Regions from separate parts of the Homo sapiens genome. Here region 2 is linked to region 1. Evidence: promoter capture Hi-C in 16 types of primary human blood cells and fetal thymus (Javierre and others, 2016). All regions are on one chromosome and are shown on one strand. Each heading gives the region's core, a stretch centred on a gene start or on the middle of the fragment in contact. The rest is flanking DNA. Distances are from core to core; before and after follow the strand shown.

What was found. Contacts are between HindIII fragments. The CHiCAGO score rates a contact against its expected background, and 5 or more counts as called.
Region 2: a contact is called between the fragment with the promoter of SLC25A32 here and the fragment with the promoter of TRAM1 in region 1, in 1 of 17 cell types (activated CD4 T cells). The highest score is 6.3, in activated CD4 T cells.

What each region holds. Positions count from the first base shown.
Region 1 is chr8:70,606,754-70,610,569 of GRCh38, forward strand. TRAM1 (translocation associated membrane protein 1) reads right to left here and starts at 1,663. Exons shown (of 11, transcript NM_014294.6): 1 at 1,324-1,663. The coding sequence starts at 1,446. It overlaps LACTB2-AS1 (LACTB2 antisense RNA 1), which reads left to right and starts at 1,824. Exons shown (of 4, transcript NR_038881.1): 1 at 1,824-2,080. RefSeq lists silencers at 710-1,159, 1,180-1,359, 1,410-1,469, 1,530-1,579, 1,660-1,829. The HindIII fragment of the contact is 3,860 bases long and covers 1-3,761 here.
Region 2 is chr8:103,413,236-103,417,051 of GRCh38, forward strand. It overlaps SLC25A32 (solute carrier family 25 member 32), which reads right to left and starts at 1,872. Exons shown (of 7, transcript NM_030780.5): 1 at 1,549-1,872. The coding sequence starts at 1,702. DCAF13 (DDB1 and CUL4 associated factor 13) reads left to right here and starts at 2,151. Exons shown (of 11, transcript NM_015420.7): 1 at 2,151-2,281. The coding sequence starts at 2,212. RefSeq lists enhancers at 1,538-2,159, 1,893-2,232. The HindIII fragment of the contact is 9,226 bases long and covers 1-3,816 here.

The sequences.
Region 1 (3,816 bases), core at 413-2,912:
ATATCTGTATCTAGATCCAGAAAAGCCCATTTGATGAGAGGCGAAAATAAGGTTAAAATATTATTTAATTTTAAAATTAAAAAAAAAAACAAATATGCTCCATTAAAAAGAAAATGTATTCACCTTTTGGTCACTGGTAATATCATTCCATTAGGTTTTCTCAAGGATTCTTAACGTCGCTCATCTTTTTTTAAGCACTCCTATGTCCCAGGCACTATCCTAGACTCTGGAAATACAGACTCGTAAAAATACTCCAAAATCTCTACTCTCACTTGTTACATGCAGGAGAGAGGAGACAAAACAAGGCAGGAGCAAAATAATTTGTATATTTACTGAGACATAAAGGCTCCAGAGAAAAATTAAAAAGGGAAAAAAGCAAAGGAATGAGCGTGTGTATTGGGGAGCGAGGGGAAAAACGTAGGATGTTACTCGTTCACCTTGCAAAGTTTATCATCCACATTCAACAGCTGTTAAATAAGTCATCAAAATACTAGATACGTGGGAAGAGAATTTACACACTCCTGACATTCCCATCCTCTCCTACTTCAAGAAACAAAATTACTCGATTCCTTGGCACCGCTGTTCAGAACCTCGATTTATCCATCAGACCTTGTTTCTTTAAAGCGTCAGGGCAAAAAGTTCGTTAACTGGTAATAATATCAGTTTAAAAGACAAAAATGAAAACAATCTGGCGCGCCTCCACTGCGCCGGTGCCCGGCGGCCACCGCCCTTCAAGTCGAAAGCAGATGCCTGACTCCGGTTTCTCGCTCACCCCAATCTCGGAGCTACCGGGGGCTCCCCTGTCACTCGGGGCCTGTGGTCTCCAGGCCGGCACTCCTCAGACCCGGGGGCCGGGCCTCGGCCTTCCCCGGCCCTCGCGGGGCTGACGCTCACCGCGGCCGAGGCTGGCAGTCCCCCCAAGTCCGCCCACCCGCCCCGAGCCAGCTCGGCAGCGCAGGGGCCGCCCCCGCCCGCAGGCCCCTCGCCGGCTGCCACGTAACCCTTCGCGGGAACCAGGAACTGCGCCGCGCAGCCTGCGGGAGGGGGCGGCGGCGGGTCAGGAAGGGGGCGACGCGGCGGTCCCCACCCCCTGCGGGCCGCGATGAGGCCCACCGGGACTTTGCATCTCCGGGCCGGCCGCCGGGGAGCTGCCGCCGACGTGGGGCAGGGCAGGGAAGGCCTGCACCTCAGGGACTGGGGGTCTGCACCCACCCCGGGCCCGAGCCCCCCGCGTCCTGGGCGGAGAAGCCGGGGCTGGCATCTGGAGCCCGGGCCCGGGCTGGAGGTGGCGGGGCAGGCGGTTGGGACTCGGGGCGGGCTCACCTCAAACATGAGCCCCAGCAGGAAGACCATCGCCACACAGGAGACGATGTCCGCGTGATTCTGCAGGACGAATTCGTGGCTCAGCACTGGGGGGCTCTTGGTGCTTTTCTTGCGAATCGCCATGGTGGGGCCGCCGCCCGCGCCTGCAGGTGCTCCGCCCCGGTTCTGCTCTTCCCAGCTGCTCACCGACTCGCCGCCGCCTCCCGCTGGCTGCTCCTCACGGCCCCGCTGCAGCCGCTCGCTGGGGCTTCACTTCCCATCCCACAGCCAGTACGCAGCCGCCGGGCCGCCCGGGGGAAAAAAAAAAACACAACAGCTAGCCCGCAGCGGGGGCGAGCATGCGCACCAGGGAGACGACGCTCCCTGGTGCCGCGGCCGCCTCCGCGAGCCCACAGCGCCACCTGGGGACCGGAGGCCGCTGGCCCGCGGCCGGGCGAGCGTGCAGGAATGTGAGCGGCGCTTCCCTGCTTCGCGCCGGGCCCGGGTTTGGGAGTCGTTTGAGGCGCGAGCTTCCTGCGCCTGCTCAGCAGCCTGAGGCCGCGGCCGGGTGCCCTCCTGCCCTCCTGGCCATCCAGGGATTGGGTGTCAGTGGCCTGTTGCACATTGTCACTTCTACAAGTGACTAACACCGTCAGGATAATCTAAAACTACGAATACTACCTGACTCCACAAGGGTACGGTGTATTCTCCAGTTTTAGCATCTGCCTTAAAAATTACCTCAGAGTTAAGCACTGCTGGGGACTTATTTCTACTCTTGGTAAGTTTGGACTAACTTAAAAAAAAAAAAAGAGCTGACCCTATTCTGGTCTGCCTCTCCGTCCCCACCCCCATCCCCGTCCCCATCCCCACCCCTATCCCCCACTGGCCTCAGACTGAAGACGAAGGGATCAGTTTGGGTTTACTGGCTTCACATATATTCAAATTAACAACATGTTTTAGTAATCTAAGGGAAATAGTAAAAGAGTTAAAAAGGATCGTGGATTAAGACACGTCCTCCTCTTATCGTTTTGCCCAAACCTGGAGTCCTTTGTATTCTTTTTCCTGAAGAATTGCTCTCCTGTTTACCCATAAGCCAAATGTAGAAACCAAAGTCATGCTAGATTGAGCCCTTTCAGCGCCCTTCCACATCCAGTCATCACCAATTCGAGGCAGACCTATCACCCCGCTTCCCCACTACCGCAGTCCGAGGGTACTTGCCTCTTGCCTACAATATTACAACTCTGGTGTAACCACTTAGTGGTTTAAGAATGTGGGTTGTTAAATCAGAATTCTGCCACTTATTACTTGTACGATCAAGGACAAGTTACTTAATCTCTATGGGACCCGATTTCCTCATTTTTAAAAATGTATTCATTTATGTACTTACTGAGGGTTGACTGTGTCCTGGGCACTGGGGATACAGAACTGAAATACAAATTAAATTATTCCTAGGGACTTATCATTCTAGTGTGGGAGAGAATCTTTAAACAAGATTTCAAAAGCGAAACAGATGTTAAATTGAGTTGAGCAACCAGGAGAAAAATAAAGCAAGGGGAATAGGAAAGTGCGAGGCACTTATACTTGCCTGAAGACCTGCAGGAGGTGAGGGAGCAAGCCCTGTGGATATCATCTATAAAGTGGGGATAACTATTGCTCATTTTAGTGATTAAATGAGATGATTGAAGGAAACTGCTTAGCGGGGAGTAAGGGCTTTATAAATTTAGTCAGGGATTATTCTTTTCCTCCTTCTGGGCAATCACTAGTTTCATTTCCCTTCAGATCACCTTTCAACGTTTATACTAGAATGATGCTTCTACTGGCAGAAAGTTTTTCAGCGGGTTCCCTTTCCCTTCATGGAAAGCTAGCATGATGAAATAGCCCTTTCTGATTTGGTCCTTGCCTACCCCAACAGACTGGAGCCCTGCATCTACAGGCCATAATCTCTGTACCAGCATTATTGACTACACACACTATACAGTTGCCTCTCCATATCTGTGGGTGCCGCATACACTGTGGATTCAACCAACCTGGAGTAAAAGATATTCAAGAAAAAAACTGCATTTGTACTGAACATCTACAGACTACCCCCCCATGATTATTCCCTAAATAATATAGTACAGCCAACTATTTATTTAGCAGTTATGTTGTGTTATTATAAGTAATCTAGAAATGATTGGAGGTCTGTGGGAGGATTTAGGATATTCTTTACCAGAATATTGCATCATCTTATATAAGGCACCTGAGCATGGGTGGATTTCGGTATCCGCGGGGGCCCTGGAACCAGTCCCCTGTGAAGACTGAGGGACGACTGTACATGCCATGACATGCTCTCTTCCCATGCTCTCCCCTGCCTTTGCGTGTACTGCTGTCTCTGTCTGGAATGTTTTCTCCTGTCCTTTCATAGACACAGCAGGCTCCTGCTGTTCCTTCATGTCTCATTTACACATGACCTCTTCGAAAGCTTCACTGAATTCTGTGACCTAAGCAATTTATCTTTTATGATTCAATTGCATT
Region 2 (3,816 bases), core at 622-3,121, about 33 Mb after region 1:
GATCACCTCGACTATCACCTCTTCTGCTCCTAGATAAAATGCTACTGAAGACAGACAGCAAGTCATACAGGCCTGCACCTGCAGGCAAGTCTAAAATTCTTCCAATGTTCAAACCATTGTATAACAGGTACTTATAGAGGTAATACGGTGAGGGGTTAAGTGCCAGAGGGTTCCAGAGTTAGATTACCTGGGTTTAAATCCCAGATCCATCTTTACAAACTTGTGACTTGGGCAAGTTAGTCAACTTCTGTTATCCTCATCTGTATAGCAGATATCATAAACTCACAGGATTGTTCCTGTGAATAGATTTACAGGATAATAAATGAGATAATGCATCTAAAGCATAGTTCACTGCCTTGCTCCTAGTAAATACTCGATAAAGATTACTTGTCAATAACATAATTATTTGTGCATGCATCATAAAACTTCATGACATTATATGTCTTTGTGGTGTTTTTTCTAGAGATAATACTCCATAATTTTCGATGATTTTCCTTCATAGAACGGGTTCTTGCTTCCTCTCCAGCTGTCAAAATATTAGCCCTTCTATGGGAAACCCCAAGCCCCAATCTTCCACTGAACCTTAAAGATACACATGGCCATCAGTAATGTAGAATTTTCTTAACGGTTTACCTGTATTTATATTTTGTTTTTGTATTTCTTGATTTTATGTTGTCTAGAATTACCTTTTATATGACTAAGTCTAACGCCTACAATTAAATTCTAAGTTCCCTGAAGGCAAGAACTTTATTAGATACTTCTGTAGCCCATACAGCAGTCTACAAATATTAAGAGAATATAAATCAAGTGAACTGAATTGCCTAATGCTAAAATAAACAACTTCTGTAGATTTAATTCTCAAGGCTGAACTTAACTTGTAATAACTTTATTTGGAAACTATTTTCTGCAATTTCAGTTATCAAAGATCATCTTTGAAACTCTTTCCAGACTTTAGTGTTGAGTTTAACTTCTAAAATGCTTTGTTAATTTCAACATACTCAATTCATCTAATACACTTAAAATAGTATTTCGATTCTAGCTATTTTTTCACAGAAACTTGTACCATTCTACAAATGCCAAAAAACAAACATTCAAGAGAATTCTATTCTAAATCTACTCCCAACCATTCGCTGAAGATTACGCCCTATCCCAATACTAGTCGAGCTGCCAAACCACGTGGGTATGCTAAGATTTCAAAGTTCCTCCAAGAGTGAATGATTTGCACGTGTGAGGACTAAACCTTAAAATGTGACAATCCCTTCTTTATTTTACAAATCAGGCTTTGAATCCCATCTTCTCTGCCAATGAGGATGTTTTTTCTCAGACTTCTCTACATACATGCCCCCTCTCTTAGTCTTGAGGAGCGGGGAAGATCGCAGGCCGACCCCTCCACCAAGCACCATTTCCTCAAATCTAGTTCAGGTTAGCCAACGCGGACAGCAACGCTCCCTTCAACGCTCCTCCTCCCCCTAGAACGGAAAAGACGGAGGAGATCCAGTTCGGGCTGACAGTGAGAGGATGCAGCCCGGTGTCTGGGCGGGCTCTTACCGGCGAAGCGGATCTTCACGAGGTCGAGCGGATGCAGCGCAAGGTTGGATAAGACGCCGCCGCTCACGCCCGCTATCAGGTTCTCATACCGGACGTGGCGGAATACCGTGCTCCACGCCGACGACCCGGACGCCGACTGGCCCTGGCCCGTCATAGGCTCGGGGCCCGTCGACACCACGGCGCCCAGGGCCGCGGAGGTGGGACGCGATGCAGTGGCCGCCACCGTGGCGACGGTCGCCCCTTGTGAGCGCAACCCCACCTCCGGGACCAACGAGAGGACTCTTATGCCCAAGGCGCGTGAGCGAAGCCGGAGACTCTAGTACTGAGGGGGCAAGAACGGGGCACAGACACTACGTCACGCCGGCGGAAAGCGCGATGGAGGGGAGGTCCCAGCCTCTCCCGAGTCTCCGCCCTGCCTCGCCCACAAATGCTCCAGCCCACGGACGCGGAAGCGACTGCACAGCTAAAGAACCGCCCCTTGCTAACGTTTGCCGGCAAAACTACGGAGCGGCGCAGGATCCAGTTGAGCCAGCAGGCCGCCGCTCCGCGAGTCACGTGACTGGAAGTAGTCTGGGAAAAGCGGAAGTCGCCTGTGGGAGGAGGTGGCGGTGGGCGGAACTCCTAGCGGACACCTCGTGGAGTCCGGCCGGAAGAGCAACCGAGATGAAGGTGAAGATGCTGAGCCGGAATCCGGACAATTATGTCCGCGAAACCAAGTTGGACTTACAGAGAGGTAAGATAAGTTGGTAGGGAGAAAGGGACGGTTTCCGCAAGTCGTTGGGTCTAGCCTCGGCTTTCGCGGAGTAAAGCCGGGGGAGGCTGGCACTCTGGTCTGGTTCTTTCTCAGTTACCTTTCGCTAAGGCAAACTTTGTGCTTACGGAGTCGCTGCGGAACTGGATGGATAGCAAGTAAAGTCTGTTCAAGTCCTTTTTCTAAGAATTTCCTCTAGTGGTGAGTGGGAAACAGTTGTCTATAGTGGAGAAAAATTCCAGCTGCTGCTCTGGGATTGTCTTCAGGTTCCTATTACTGAAAAGTGGACTTGAATGAGCCAAACTCGTGGGTTGAAGGGCTGAGAGTTAAACAGGCTTTTAAAACCTTCCTACTGCTCTTCTTGCCGCTTTACTACTTCACATTAGTTGTGGATGTTGGAAGAGACAAAGATGAATTTAAAAGCATCAGTTTTCTCTTACCATCCCTTAAGAAGTTTGATGAAAGAATGGTTAAATGAAATTAATTTATCCTTCCTGGTCTGTTCCCCCGTTAACATGCTAACCACTTATAAATTGTACTTTGTGATACCTAAATGACAAGGGACCAACCATGCGTAAGCAGATTGTTCTAAATAAAGAGAATAACAGGAGCAAAGGTCTTCAGGCAGGAATGAACCTAAGGCATAGAAAGAAGGGCTGTGTCATTAGTTTGAATGAGGAGTAAGCGAGATGAGATGAGGCGAAAACAGTATTTCACTATTTTGGTTGAGTAGGAGATATTATCAACATGTGTGTGAGCATTGCTAATAAGTCTCTGCTCAAAAGATGTTTACAGTTTGTCACAAGGCAGTAATGTTTCTAAAATATAAATTAGATTTGTCACTTGGATTTGGCATCGTTCCCAGTCCTTGAATCTCTGGTCCCACCTTCCTTGCCACTTTAGTCAGTCACTACGTTTCCCACAAGTGGTTTAGTATTCACCCTTGCAAATCTCAGTGCGTTTCAGTCATCTTTTTTAAGGCCTCCTGTGGCACACACCCTTACCCAGTTTAGCCGCTTTCTCTGGAAGACTTTCACCGAACAGTAATCTGTTCCTGCTTACCTCCTGCATGAGCCCCGCCCCCTTCAGCACCCGTCTTCTGTGATTCTATCACTTCTTCACAGTGTTTATCACATTGTCTCATGATTATTATTTTGGTTAATAGTCTTTCCCATCAGACTTAGCCTCCAAAAAGGGGAAGAATCATGTTCGTGTATGCACTGTTAAGACAGCACCTAGCACATAGTTGCTTTAATAAATGTCAGTTTCTCCATCTATAAAGATTCATTTTTGCCTACATGAAGAGATTTAGAAACAAAATGATCTATCTTGTTGGGGTTTTTAAACTTCTGTTGAAATTATTAAAATGCTAATTTTAGTTGTAGGAACAGCTGCTGACATCAGAGTAGATAGAAATTTTCTAGACTTCAAAAATAATCTTTGCAAAACTGATGGATGAGACTGAAAATTAAATATATTAAATAAACGTGGCCAATTATGGACATTATCATTTTGGG